Linked DNA regions of Homo sapiens: all the other regions are linked to region 1. The links are contacts of gene promoters, found by promoter capture Hi-C in blood cells and fetal thymus (Javierre and others, 2016). All regions are on one chromosome and are shown on one strand. Each heading gives the region's core, a stretch centred on a gene start or on the middle of the fragment in contact. The rest is flanking DNA. Distances are from core to core; before and after follow the strand shown.

What was found. The method cuts DNA at HindIII sites, captures the fragments that hold promoters and counts their contacts. A CHiCAGO score of 5 or more calls a contact.
Region 2: the fragment with the promoter of MAPK13 here is called in contact with the fragment with the promoter of CLPSL2 in region 1 in 2 of 17 cell types (activated CD4 T cells and total B cells); the score reaches 5.5 in activated CD4 T cells.
Region 3: the fragment with the promoter of TEAD3 here is called in contact with the fragment with the promoter of CLPSL2 in region 1 in 12 of 17 cell types (non-activated CD4 T cells, endothelial precursors, total CD8 T cells and 9 more); the score reaches 10.9 in non-activated CD4 T cells.

Annotation. Positions count from the first base shown.
Region 1 is chr6:35,774,923-35,778,558 of GRCh38, reverse strand. CLPSL2 (colipase like 2) reads right to left here and starts at 1,961. Exons shown (of 3, transcript NM_207409.4): 1 at 1,857-1,961; 2 at 978-1,100. The coding sequence starts at 1,940. RefSeq lists a silencer at 1,851-1,980. The HindIII fragment of the contact is 8,503 bases long and covers 1-2,169 here.
Region 2 is chr6:36,128,527-36,132,162 of GRCh38, reverse strand. It overlaps MAPK13 (mitogen-activated protein kinase 13), which reads right to left and starts at 1,650. Exons shown (of 12, transcript NM_002754.5): 1 at 1,462-1,650; 2 at 763-892. The coding sequence starts at 1,580. RefSeq lists enhancers at 1-174, 885-1,004, 896-1,499 and silencers at 645-754, 1,395-1,464, 1,505-1,754. The HindIII fragment of the contact is 20,068 bases long and covers 1-3,636 here.
Region 3 is chr6:35,494,693-35,498,328 of GRCh38, reverse strand. It overlaps TEAD3 (TEA domain transcription factor 3), which reads left to right and starts at 1,250. Exons shown (of 13, transcript NM_003214.4): 1 at 1,250-1,431. TULP1 (TUB like protein 1) reads left to right here. Exons shown (of 15, transcript NM_003322.6): 15 at 1-455. The coding sequence ends at 2. LOC124901309 (a long non-coding RNA gene) reads right to left here and starts at 196. Exons shown (of 2, transcript XR_007059561.1): 1 at 122-196. RefSeq lists enhancers at 1-343, 344-1,274, 2,221-3,006 and silencers at 743-1,072, 1,083-1,212, 1,393-1,442. The HindIII fragment of the contact is 26,537 bases long and covers 1-3,636 here.

The DNA.
Region 1 (3,636 bases), core at 712-3,211:
ATAATCTTCCCAACAGCCTGGTGGGGTAGGTACTTTAGCCTCTCCTTGTAGATGAGGAAACTAAGGCTCAGAGAGCCATGATGACCTGCTTGAAGTCACAAAGATAGGGTGTGGAAAAGTCAGGATTTAAACTCAGGTCCAACTGCAAAGCTGTGGTCCTGCCACTGCAGTGCCATGCTCCTCTCAAGAAATCATGTCACTGTGGCAGGGAGATGGGGACTAGTAAGGGGAAGGTCATTTCCTACTTACCCTGCCTCAGTGGTGTGAGAGAAGAGATATTCATTCATTCAACAAGCATTTATTGGCCGGGCACGGTGGCTCATGCCTATAATCCCAGCACCTTGGGAGGCCGAGCCAGGTGGATCACCTGAGGTCAGGAGTTCAAGACCGGCTTGGCCAACATGGCAAAACCCCATCTCTACCAAAGATACGAAAATTAGCCAGGCATAGCGGTGCACCCCTGTAATCCCAGCTACTCGGGAGGCTGAGGCCCAAGAATCGCTTGAACCCAGGAGGCAGAGGTTGCAGTGAGCCGAGATCATGCCATTGCACTCTAGCCTGGGTGACAGAGCGAGACTCCATCTCGAAACAAACAAACAAACAACAATAAGCATTTATTGAGCACCTACTATGTGCAGATACTAAGCTGGGGGTAGGTGCTTCATAGATGAATATGATGCGATCCCTGCCCTTGAAGAGTTCCAACCACTGGGAGAGGCAGAGAAAAGACATGGCCAGTTAGGGAGATACATGGTCTGCTGAGGGTCTGACCCCAGGGTACAGGAGCTCCAAGGAGGGAAGCCTTCTCAGAGGAGGTGGCTGGAGTTGTTTTGCACCATGAGTAGGAGTTTGCCAAGTGGAGAAGAAGAAGGGCACTCCAGACAGAGGTGAAAAAACAGGTGGGGCCAGGTGTTTTTTTTTTAACCTCCCTGCCCGCTTCTCTACTTGCCAGAAGTTGCCCCATACTAGGGCCTCACCTGGGGCAAGCAGATCATGGTTATTCTGGCCCTGGGGGCACAGAAGGCTCCACCGGAGTCCAAGTCCATGAGGCAGCAGCCACTGTAGCACTCAGAGTGGTGGAAGCACCTGTCTGTGATTTTCTGTGGGGACAGGCAGAATGTCTGCCAGGCTGGGAGCAATCCCTGAGTCGTGTGGGCGGGTAGGGGAGGGTTCCCACCATTGCCAAAGAGCCCAGGGATCCAGGAGAAGTCATGAGGTTGTCACCCCTTGGGGGGCTGGTTCCCCCCCCAGCCCCACCCCGGCCCCTCAGCAGGACCCAGGGCAGCAGAGAGGAGGAGAGGGGGATTAGCACTTTTCCCTCGGCCTCTCCTTTCCTGGACCCCCCTCACCTCCATGAGTCCCATGGGGTGTGTACTCTTAAGTCCCATTTTGCGGGGCAGGGTTGGGGGATGAGAATGAAGGGGCTGCGGGCTCGAAAAAGAGGGAGAGAAAGAGGAGAAAAGGGGAGAGCCCTCGTGCCTGGAAGAATCACTAGACAGTGAGAGGAGGTGGAAGAAGAGGAGGAGAAACCAGAGCATGCAGGGTGGGTTTGCCTGTGAGCAGTTTGGGGAGGGAAGCGAGCCCAGGACTGAGGCCATCGGAAGGGGCACGGGCGGGGGAGGTGGAGGGAGCGAGGGTGCTGGTCATAGGCCAATTTCTCTCCCCTCTGAGGCCACCAGGGGAAAGTGAAGCGGCTTTTGAAGTCCGTCTGAGGATGCCCCAGGCTACCCGCCTGGGTGTGGTTCCGGACCCACCTCTCCCTTTCAGGCTGCCCGGCGCCTTCGGGCTCCAGTGCCCCGGCGGCGGGGCCACCCTCTCCTGCGGTCGCGGCCGGCTGGGCGCGCTCCCCGGCTCACCTTTTTATATTGCGGAAGCGCGCTCCAGAGGGGCAGCACCGCCCCCGACAGGACCCCCGCCACGAGCGCCAGGGCTGCGGCCATGGGCCTGGGCGGCAGAGCAGCGGCGGGGTTCCGAGGGGCCGCGGGATAAAACCTCTTCCCCGGCCACGTGACCCGGCGCCCCAGGCCACCCCGGCGGAGGAGGGACGTGGAGGGCGAGGACGCCTGCGGAAGGGAAGGAGGGAGGAAAGGCGCTCAGGCTCGCACGGGCGGGATTCCAGACTGTAGGGGCCCTGGGAGCCTCCATACGTGTTACTTCCAAGTAGAAGCTTGAAACTGTAAGATAAAACTCTATTTTTATTGTAAGATAAAACTCTATTTTATTGTATTTATTTATTTTACAGACGGAGTCTCGCACTGTCGCCCAGTGCAGTGGCGTGATCTCGGCTCACTGCCATCTCCGCCTCCCAGGTTCAAGTGATCCTCCTGCCTCAGCCTCCCGAGTAGCTGGGACTACAGGTGTGCGCCACCACGCCGGGATAATTTTAAAAATTTCTGTAGAGACGGGGGTCTCCCCATGTCGCCCAGGCTGGTCTCTAACTCCTGGCCTCAAGTGATGGTCCTGCTTCAGCCTCCCAAAGTGCTGGGATTACAGGTGTGAGCCACCGCACCTGGCCTCAAAACTTTATTTTTATAAACGGCACAAAACATATATGCTGAAATAAAAAGAGCTTCCTTCCTGATGTTGATTCTCTGTCTGCCCTTGCAGCCCCAGATTCTCCCCTTACCTTCGGGATAATCCAGCCCCACCCTCTGGGCTGCTCACACCCGCTGCAGGCCCCATTCTCCTCTTCTGTAAGAACCAGGAGGTGGGACAAGATGGTCTCTAAGTCTTAAATCTCTTGCAGTCTTAATCATTCTATTAATTGTCTAAGGATTTGTCTGTGAATTGTGTGAAAGTCAAGATGTGGGGGCAAAATGGAGAAGTGGGAAGAGAAGAAAACTCAGAATAGGGAGGAGGGTTAAGGGAGAGCTAGAGCTGCACAGAGCAATCCTGGAACCGGGGGAGGCAGGCCTTCCTCAGGACTTCCCTATGGATGAAGCTTCCACCTCACCCCACCTGCCTGCTTCTGCTTTTTTTTAATTTCTATTTTTTTTTAATTTTGTATTGTTAATATTTGTTATAGAGACAGGTTGTCCTTATGTTGTCCAGGCTGGTCTTGAACTCATGGGCTCAAGAGATTCTCCTGCCTCGGCCTCCCAAAGTGGTGGGATTACAGACGTGAGCCACCACTCCCAGCCTGCTTCTGCTTTTGAAGTTTCGCTTAAGAAATGAACCGAGGAATCCTGTCTTGGTGGGGAATAACAGCCAAGAATAACAGCCCCCACCGCACTCAGAGGGCCTTGTATCCATTATTTCCGTGAGCCCTCCCTGTATTAACACTAGCTGTCACAGAGTAATTAACACTGGCTGTAACAACAGAACTCCTGGAATTTCGTGGCTTGGCACAATAATGCTTTATGTACAGTCTGATTTGGGGCAAGATACCCTTCTTCCATCCTGTAGCCATCTATAAGACTGGCCTCTGGCTGGGCATGGTGGCTCATGCATGTATTCACAGCACTTCGGGAGGCCAAGGAGAGAGGATCAGTTGTTTTGGGGGTTTTTTTGGTTTTTTTTTTTTTTTTTTTTTTTTTTTTTTTTGAGACAGAGTCTCACGCTATTGCCCAGGCTGAAGTGCAATGGCACAATCTCGGCTCACTGCAACCTCCGCAAAGTGCTGGGATTACCAGTGGG
Region 2 (3,636 bases), core at 401-2,900, 350 kb before region 1:
AAGGGCAAGATCACCCTGGCTGGAGGCCATAGGGGAGGGGTTTGCTGGAGAAGGATGGGCTTAAAATGTACATAACATTTTGAAATCATTCTTTGAAATGTCTGCCCTCCAATCTAGGTATCCTGCAGCAAAGCCTGGCTGCCAGGCCCTGAGCTGGGCCCCTGGTTTTCCCAGCTGCTTCTATCAGACAAGACAATCTGATGGTCATGTGCTCAGACCGGGAGCCTCGCTGCCGAGATTGAAACCCCAGCTCTGCTACTGACTAACCATCTAATCTGTGAGCCTTGCTGTGCTTTAGTTTCCTGTCTGTGACATGGGGGCAGTAGTACTCATATATCATGAGGACTAGACAAGTTAGTGTATGCAGAGCTCTTAGAACATAGGAAGTGCTCAATATGTGTATATTGCTATTGTTATCAGGGTCACGTGGACACAACGCTAACTAGGATTCTAGTCCCAGCTGGCCACAAGCTCTCAGACATGGAACCAATTACAAAGTTCCCCTGTGCCAATTTCCTCTGTAGGATAACACAGTCTGTACCTCACAAAGTGCATTCTGCCAAAAATACCCTTTGACCTCTTCCTGGAAAGTGGGCAGGGAAGGTCTCGGCACCCCCTCCTTTCAATAGTGAGGCGAGAGGCACCGTCAGGGGAGCAGGGAGGAGACTGTCCCGAGCTCTCCATACCGGGAGGCCCCGCCTGCGCCTGCCCCTGACTCCCCAGGGCAGCCCCCACCCCCTCCCCGGGGCAGCCACCACCTACGTTCTCATGCTGCATGTGCTTCAGCAGCAGCAGCTCCCGGTAGGCGCGCTTGGCGAAGATCTCGGACTGAAAGGGTCGGCTCAGCTTCTTGATGGCCACCTTCTCCCCTGACCGCTTGTCGATGGCCGAGCTGTCGGGCACAGGCCGGTCAGCAGGCGAGGCTCTCCTCCTGGGCCGTATCTCCCAGACCGCCCTGACCCCTCCCACTGGGCAGCTGGGCTGAGAGGGGACTAGGCCCACCACCTAGAATATGGGGGAGCCGCGGGACGCAGGGCAGGGAGTAGGAAGCCAGGCAGGAGCTGAGAGAGGGGCACAGCGCCAGGGGCAGCAACGTCTCATTGCGACGGGATCCACGGCAGGGCGGGAGTCTCACTCTGTCTGCAACTTGGCGAGCCACCTCCCCCTCTTGGGGCCTCGGTGTACTCGTCTGTAACAGTGAGGATCTGCCCGATGAACTCTGGGGTCTTGCAAGTGTACAGTCCTGGAGAACCAGGCCCAGTCCCAACTCAACCCCCAGAGACCTCACTCAGCCACTCGGTGAGAAAAGGGAGATGGCCGCTGGGTGGCCCCGGGGAGGGCGCTGGGCCTTGAGGTCCGCGGTCAAGGTGGCGCTGGCGAGGGGCCAGCCCAGGGCGGGCTGGGCGGAAAGGGGAGAGCCTGGCGCCCGCCCCCCGCCCCCCAGCGGCCCAGGGGTCTCACCACACGGAGCCATAGGCCCCGCTGCCGACGTGCGTCGGGGACACGTAGGTCTTGGGCAGCTCCCAGGCTGTCTTGTTGACGTCCTGCTTGTAGAAGCCCTTTTTCCGGATGAGGCTCATCCCGGGCACCCGATCTCGGCGGCCCCAGCGTGGCGGCTGCGTTCGCGGCCCAACGGGCTCCCAGCGCCCCGACCCCCGCTGCGCCCGCCCCGCGCCGCCCGCTCCTCCCCCGCGCGAGGGCGGGGGCCCCGGGCTGCTACGCTCCCACCTGCCGGCTCGCCCAGGTGCGCCGGGGCCGCCACGCCCGGGCCTGTCCAGCCCTGCGCTCCCGCGCTTCCGCCCGGCCCGACGGAGCCACTGCGGCAGGTGCGGCCCAGGCACGGGGTCGGGGCTGCCCAGCGGGACCCCGGTGCCTCCCAGCCGAGCGCGGGCCAGCGGCGGGGCTGGTGGGTCCAAGCAGGAGCGGGGAGGCAGTGCTTCCCAGTTCCCTCCAGCCCCGGTCTCCGTAGGAAGAGCTCCCTGTGACTGTGAACACACAGGAAAGCAGAACAAAACCCCACAACCTCTTCATTATGGAAAATGTCAAACATGCAGGAAAGAATTGAACAGAGTAAGCCAGCGCTTCTCACACTTCAGTGTGCTCAGGAATCCCCTGGGCATTTTATTTGATTAAAATACAGATCCTGACTCAGTAGGTTTGGGGTGGAGCCGAGATTCTGCATTTCTAGCCAGCTCCCAGGTCTGAGGCTTCTGAACCACATCTGATAGGAGGTTCTAATGAACCCCCGTGACCCCAATTCCCCAGCAACCACAACTCATAATCAATTTTATTTCATCCACATTCCTCTCCCACCATCGTTTTGAAGCAAAACCCAGGCGTCATATCATTTTATTCATAAATATTTTTGTATCTCTAAAACGTAAGGATTTTTAAAAGTACGTATCCACAATACTATATATATATATTTTTTGAGACTCTGTCGGAGTGCAGTTGCCATCTCGGCTCACTGCAACCTCCGCCTCCCGGGTTCAAGCAATTCTCTGCCTCCGCCTCCCGATTAGCTAGGATTGTAGGTGCCTGCCACCAAACCCGGCTAATTTTTGTATTTTTAATAGAGATGGGGTTTCACCATCTTGGCCAGGCTGGTCTTGAACTCCTGACCTCGTGAACCACCCGCCTCGGCCTCCGAAAGTGTTGGGATTACAGGCGTGAGCCACCGCGCCTGGCCCACAATACATTCTTAAACCTAAAATTAATAGCACTAATTCTATAATACCAAATATCCACGCAGGTTCAAATGTGCAGGATTTTTGTTTGTTTTTGACATGGAGTCTCACTCTATTGCCTAGGCTGGAGTGCAGTGGCGCCATCTCAGCTCACTGCAACCTCCGCCTCCCAGGTTCAAGCAATTCTCTTGCCTCAGCCTCCTGAGTAGCTGGGACTACAGGTGCACACCACCACTCCTAGCTAATTTTTGTATTTTTAGTAGAGACGGGGTTTCACCATGTTGGCCAGGCTGGTCTTCAACTCCTGACCTCAGGTGGTCCGCCCACCTCAGCCTCCCAAAGTGTTTGGATTACAGAAGTGAGCCACCGCACCTGGCCCAAATGTGCAGTTTTGAACACAGTTTCTGTGGACTTCCTAAGGCTCTATGAGGACAATGACTAATTGGGGCCCTTGCCACCTGTCTGGTGGCCTGTGCAGCCTGATGGAGATTCTTTGCTCAAACCACAAAGGCCTCTGAGGAGCAAGGTGGGCAGGTGGGGGGAGGAGATGGCTGCAAGGGCTCTGGATGCCCAGCCTGACTTGTCCAACCCCTCTCTTGCCCAGGCATGGGGCTGTGGAAGGGGCGGGGACCACCTGCTTCACTTTGTCAAAAAGAAGGTCTATTGAACAAGGAAAGAAATTTGCTAGGGGCTTACAGCAAGCCGGGGGCCCACACTAGGGAGTCTGCAGCCCCCAAACTCTGTGCCCCAAGCCCTCCCGGGCAGTCCTGCAGCCTCAGGCACAGCCTGGAAGATCATTCTGAGATGAGGGTGGGGTGCCATCATCACACAACAACACCTGCCATTATTTCAGTCAGGCAATCTGTCTTTTTCATTTCTGGCACATGGCAATATAACAGCAAATGTGTGGAGAATGAATGGAGGAGTCAGCCCATTAGATGTAAAAGAG
Region 3 (3,636 bases), core at 1-2,500, 280 kb after region 1:
GACCCCAGCAGCCCCTCAGCGCCCCCAGAGCCCGTCAGCGTGGGGGAAAGGATTCAGTGGAGGCTGGCAGGGTCCCTCCAGCAAAGCTCCCGCGGAAAACTGCTCCTGTGTCGGGGCTGACCTCTCACTGCCTCTCGGTGACCTCCGTCCTCTCCCCAGCCTGGCACAGGCCGAGGCAGGAGGAGCCCGGACGGCGGGTAGGACGGAGATGAAGAACATCTGGAGTTGGAGCCGCACATCTGGTCTCGGAGCTCGCCTGCGCCGCTGTGCCCCCCTCCTCCCCGCGCCCCAGTCACTTCCTGTCCGGGAGCAGTAGTCATTGTTGTTTTAACCTCCCCTCTCCCCGGGACCGCGCTAGGGCTCCGAGGAGCTGGGGCGGGCTAGGAGGAGGGGGTAGGTGATGGGGGACGAGGGCCAGGCACCCACATCCCCAATAAAGCCGCGTCCTTGGCCAAGCGGAGCGGTGGTTCCTCAGCGCGTGCGGAGAACGAGGCGGCAGGAGGCGTCCGAGGCGCGAGCTGGAAGTCTCAACCCCCGTCCCACTCCTGCCCAGGCCCCGGGCGCTCCCGCGTCCCCTCCCCGCGCCCGTCGCGGGTCCTACCGAAACTCGGCGGCCGCACAGCGTCGAGACGCCCCCCGTGGGGGCCCGGGGAGCCGGGGCGAAAGGGAGGGTCCCGGAGGTCGGGGAAGAGGGAGAAAGGGAGAAGAAATTCGAGAAACTAGCCACGCGGGGAGAACCAGACAAACCGGGTCCCGGCAGGGCGGGCGCAGCCGCCAGGGCGGAGCCGGGTCTGGGGCCCCGGGAGTGGGGGGCAGGCCCGCGAGCTGGAGGGTACGCTCCGCCTTGGCGGCTCGGGACTAGGGTGGAGGGGCCGGGAGCCCCGGGGCCCGTGCGCTCCGGCTCTGCCGGGCTCCTCGTGACGCGGCACCCACGGCCCCCGGCACCGACGGGAGCCCTGCCCGCGAGGCGAGGGCTCCGCCCTCGGCCCCGCCCCAGGCCGGAGCCCCAAATTCCGGCGGGTGCCCGGGAGCGGGGCGAGGCCCGGAGCGCAGGGGGAGGAAGGCAGCTCCGCACGGGCGGGCGAGGAGCGGGGCGCCCAGGCGCGCGCCAGCCGGGGTGGCCGGGTCGCGAGGCCGCGGGGTAGGCGGCCCGAGCGCGGCTGGACGGCCCCGCCCCTCCCGGCCAGCACCGCCCCCTGCGCGCCCCGCCCCCTCCTTCCCGCAGCCCCCACCCCCGCCCCGGCTCCTCAACACAAACTTTCCGTCCCGCTCGCTCCCTCCTCCGCGCTCGGCGCCTCCCGCTCCAGCCCGGCTCATTCCGCACATTCCGGCCAGCCCCCTCCCCACGACCCCCCTTCCCCGGCCCCCCTTGCGGCTCCCTCGGGCCCGGCGGAGCGGCCCGGCCGGAGCGCCCCCGCGAGCTCGGACCAGGTAAGCCGGGCGGACGCCGGGAGGAGGCCCCGCTCGGGAGAGGTGGTTTGGTTGGTCGGCTGGGCTGGCTGGGGGGGCGACACTCGAGGGGGACTGGGTCCCCGAGCTATTGTCCAGCCGGAGCTGGAGCCCCGGATCGGGGTGCCGGGAAGTTTAGAGGGAAGGGGGAAAATCTCTCCGGGAAGCCCCGCCCCCCGCCCTCCCCACCCCCCCGCGACGGGGACGAGTTGGTCCGGGAAGGTGGGGAAGCCGGGGAGACCGTGTCCCCTGTGCCGTCGCCTGTCCCGCCGTCCGTGCTTGGGGGGTCGGGGCGGGGATCCGGGGGCCGCACAGTGTGGAGGGCCTGCCTGCCACCCTGGAGCTCATATCCGGGGCGCCCAGTCCCGGGCCCCGCCGCCCTTTGGACTCCCGGCCCGCGCGCTCCCGGAGCCCGCCCGGCCTCAGCTCCACGCAGGCCTCGGGCCCGGCCTCCCAGCGCCCAGGCCGGTTTCTGCGCGCGGTGCCGCGGCTGCGCTGGGTTGTGGAGGGTGTCTGGGACCAAAGCCGCGCGCCCCGGCCGTGTGTCCCCTGAGAGGCAGGGAGGGGCTCACGTTCCCTTCAGTTCTGCCGCCTGCGTCGGGGTGCTGATTCAGAGTTCCAGCCCTGAGCGCTGTGAGCTTGGCTCGGAGGGGTCTGGATTTGGGGCCTTTTCTTCCCCACACTTGCTCAGGGCCCTTGTTTAGACTTGACAAGGTTTGAGGGTGGCTGGTCTCCCGCTTCCTACCCCGGTCCCCACCATTGTCTGTCATGCCCTTTATTCCTGCTAGGGGAGGGAGGGCTGGGAGCGCTGGTCTGGATCTGTTTTCCAGCCCAGCTGGGCCCTGGGGCAGTGTCATTGAGACCCCGCTCTGTCAACTTTCCTGGTGAGGGGCCCTGATCCAGGGCTGAGAGATTCTTTCAGTGCGAGGGGGAAGGAGGCCTTGGGGCGGACTTCTCAGGGGCTGTCTTCTTCTGTGTCTTCCCTCTTTCCAGGTAGGGGCAGAACCAGGTCAGGCCTGGACTTGTTGTCCGGAAGAACAGGGCATAGGGGTAGGGGCTGGACACAGCTCAGAGGGGCTGGTGCCCATAGCGGCTCTGCGTATCCAGTCTCTTGTGGCCTGGTTCTCTGTACACATGTTCCACCCCAGTGCTGGGGCCACCTGGGGCAAGGAGGGGAGGCTTTCCTCAAAAGTTGGAGATTTGGGGGAATTATGTCCTCTCCCTTCTAGACTCCTGTAGCCCCCCTCCCACCAAGACCCCTCTCGTAGGGGCACTCCCTAAAGGATGTGGTTCTGTGGTCTTCTGGGTCCCTGCTCACCCAGTGGGCAGAGTGCACAGATCTTCCAGGACAAGGCTGTCCAGTAAGGGTAACTTCAGGGGCCCTGGATGCCCCCTCCTCAGGGAGAGGGTAGGAGCCAGTATGAGTCCCAAGCTCTTGGGCCTTCCCCTACCCCCCCAGGGAGGGAACGTCATTAATGCTAATGAGCGCATCTGGGCTGGGGAATGGCTTGTTAGAGTGGTCAGTGGTTGCCAGGACAGAGCAGCACATTAAGTGTACAGAAGCATCACATGGGTCCTGAGCCCTGCTCCCATCCTCACCCAAAGGTTTGTAGACCCTGGCACTTTCTGCCAACTGAAGGAATGTTAAAACCGGGAGGATTTGATATTCTCAACAATATCAAAGGAGAAGATATCTCAACAGAGGTGGTCAAGAAATAGGGATCTGGTCCCCTCCGGACCTTTAACCAGTTGCGCCATCTTGGCAGGCCCCTTTGGGCCTCAGTTTCCCTGCTTGGAATGAATGACTTCTCAAGTCCCTTTTCTCTGAGCTCCTCCCAGAGTCTGTCTCCCAGTTTGCCTTCCTTCTCCCATGATGGAACCTGAACTTGGTGGGGTCTGGAGAGGCGGGTGGGTGATCCAGTGGCCCAAAGAAGAAGGCAAGGACAAACCAAGGGGTGACTGAGGAGTAGCTCAGCCAGATGAACAGGGCTGAAAAGGTGGCGGGGGGCAGGTGTCAAGGGACAGGGGGGCTTGGTGGATTGGGGGATCTTGCCTCTGAAGTGGTCATGGGTTCTGTTAGGGCTGAATGGCACAAAGGGTGCTCAGAGGCCGCTTGGGTGGCTCTACCCTCTGCCCCACTCCCAGACACCTGTGGGGGTCCCAGGGCTCAGTGTGGAAATCGCTGGT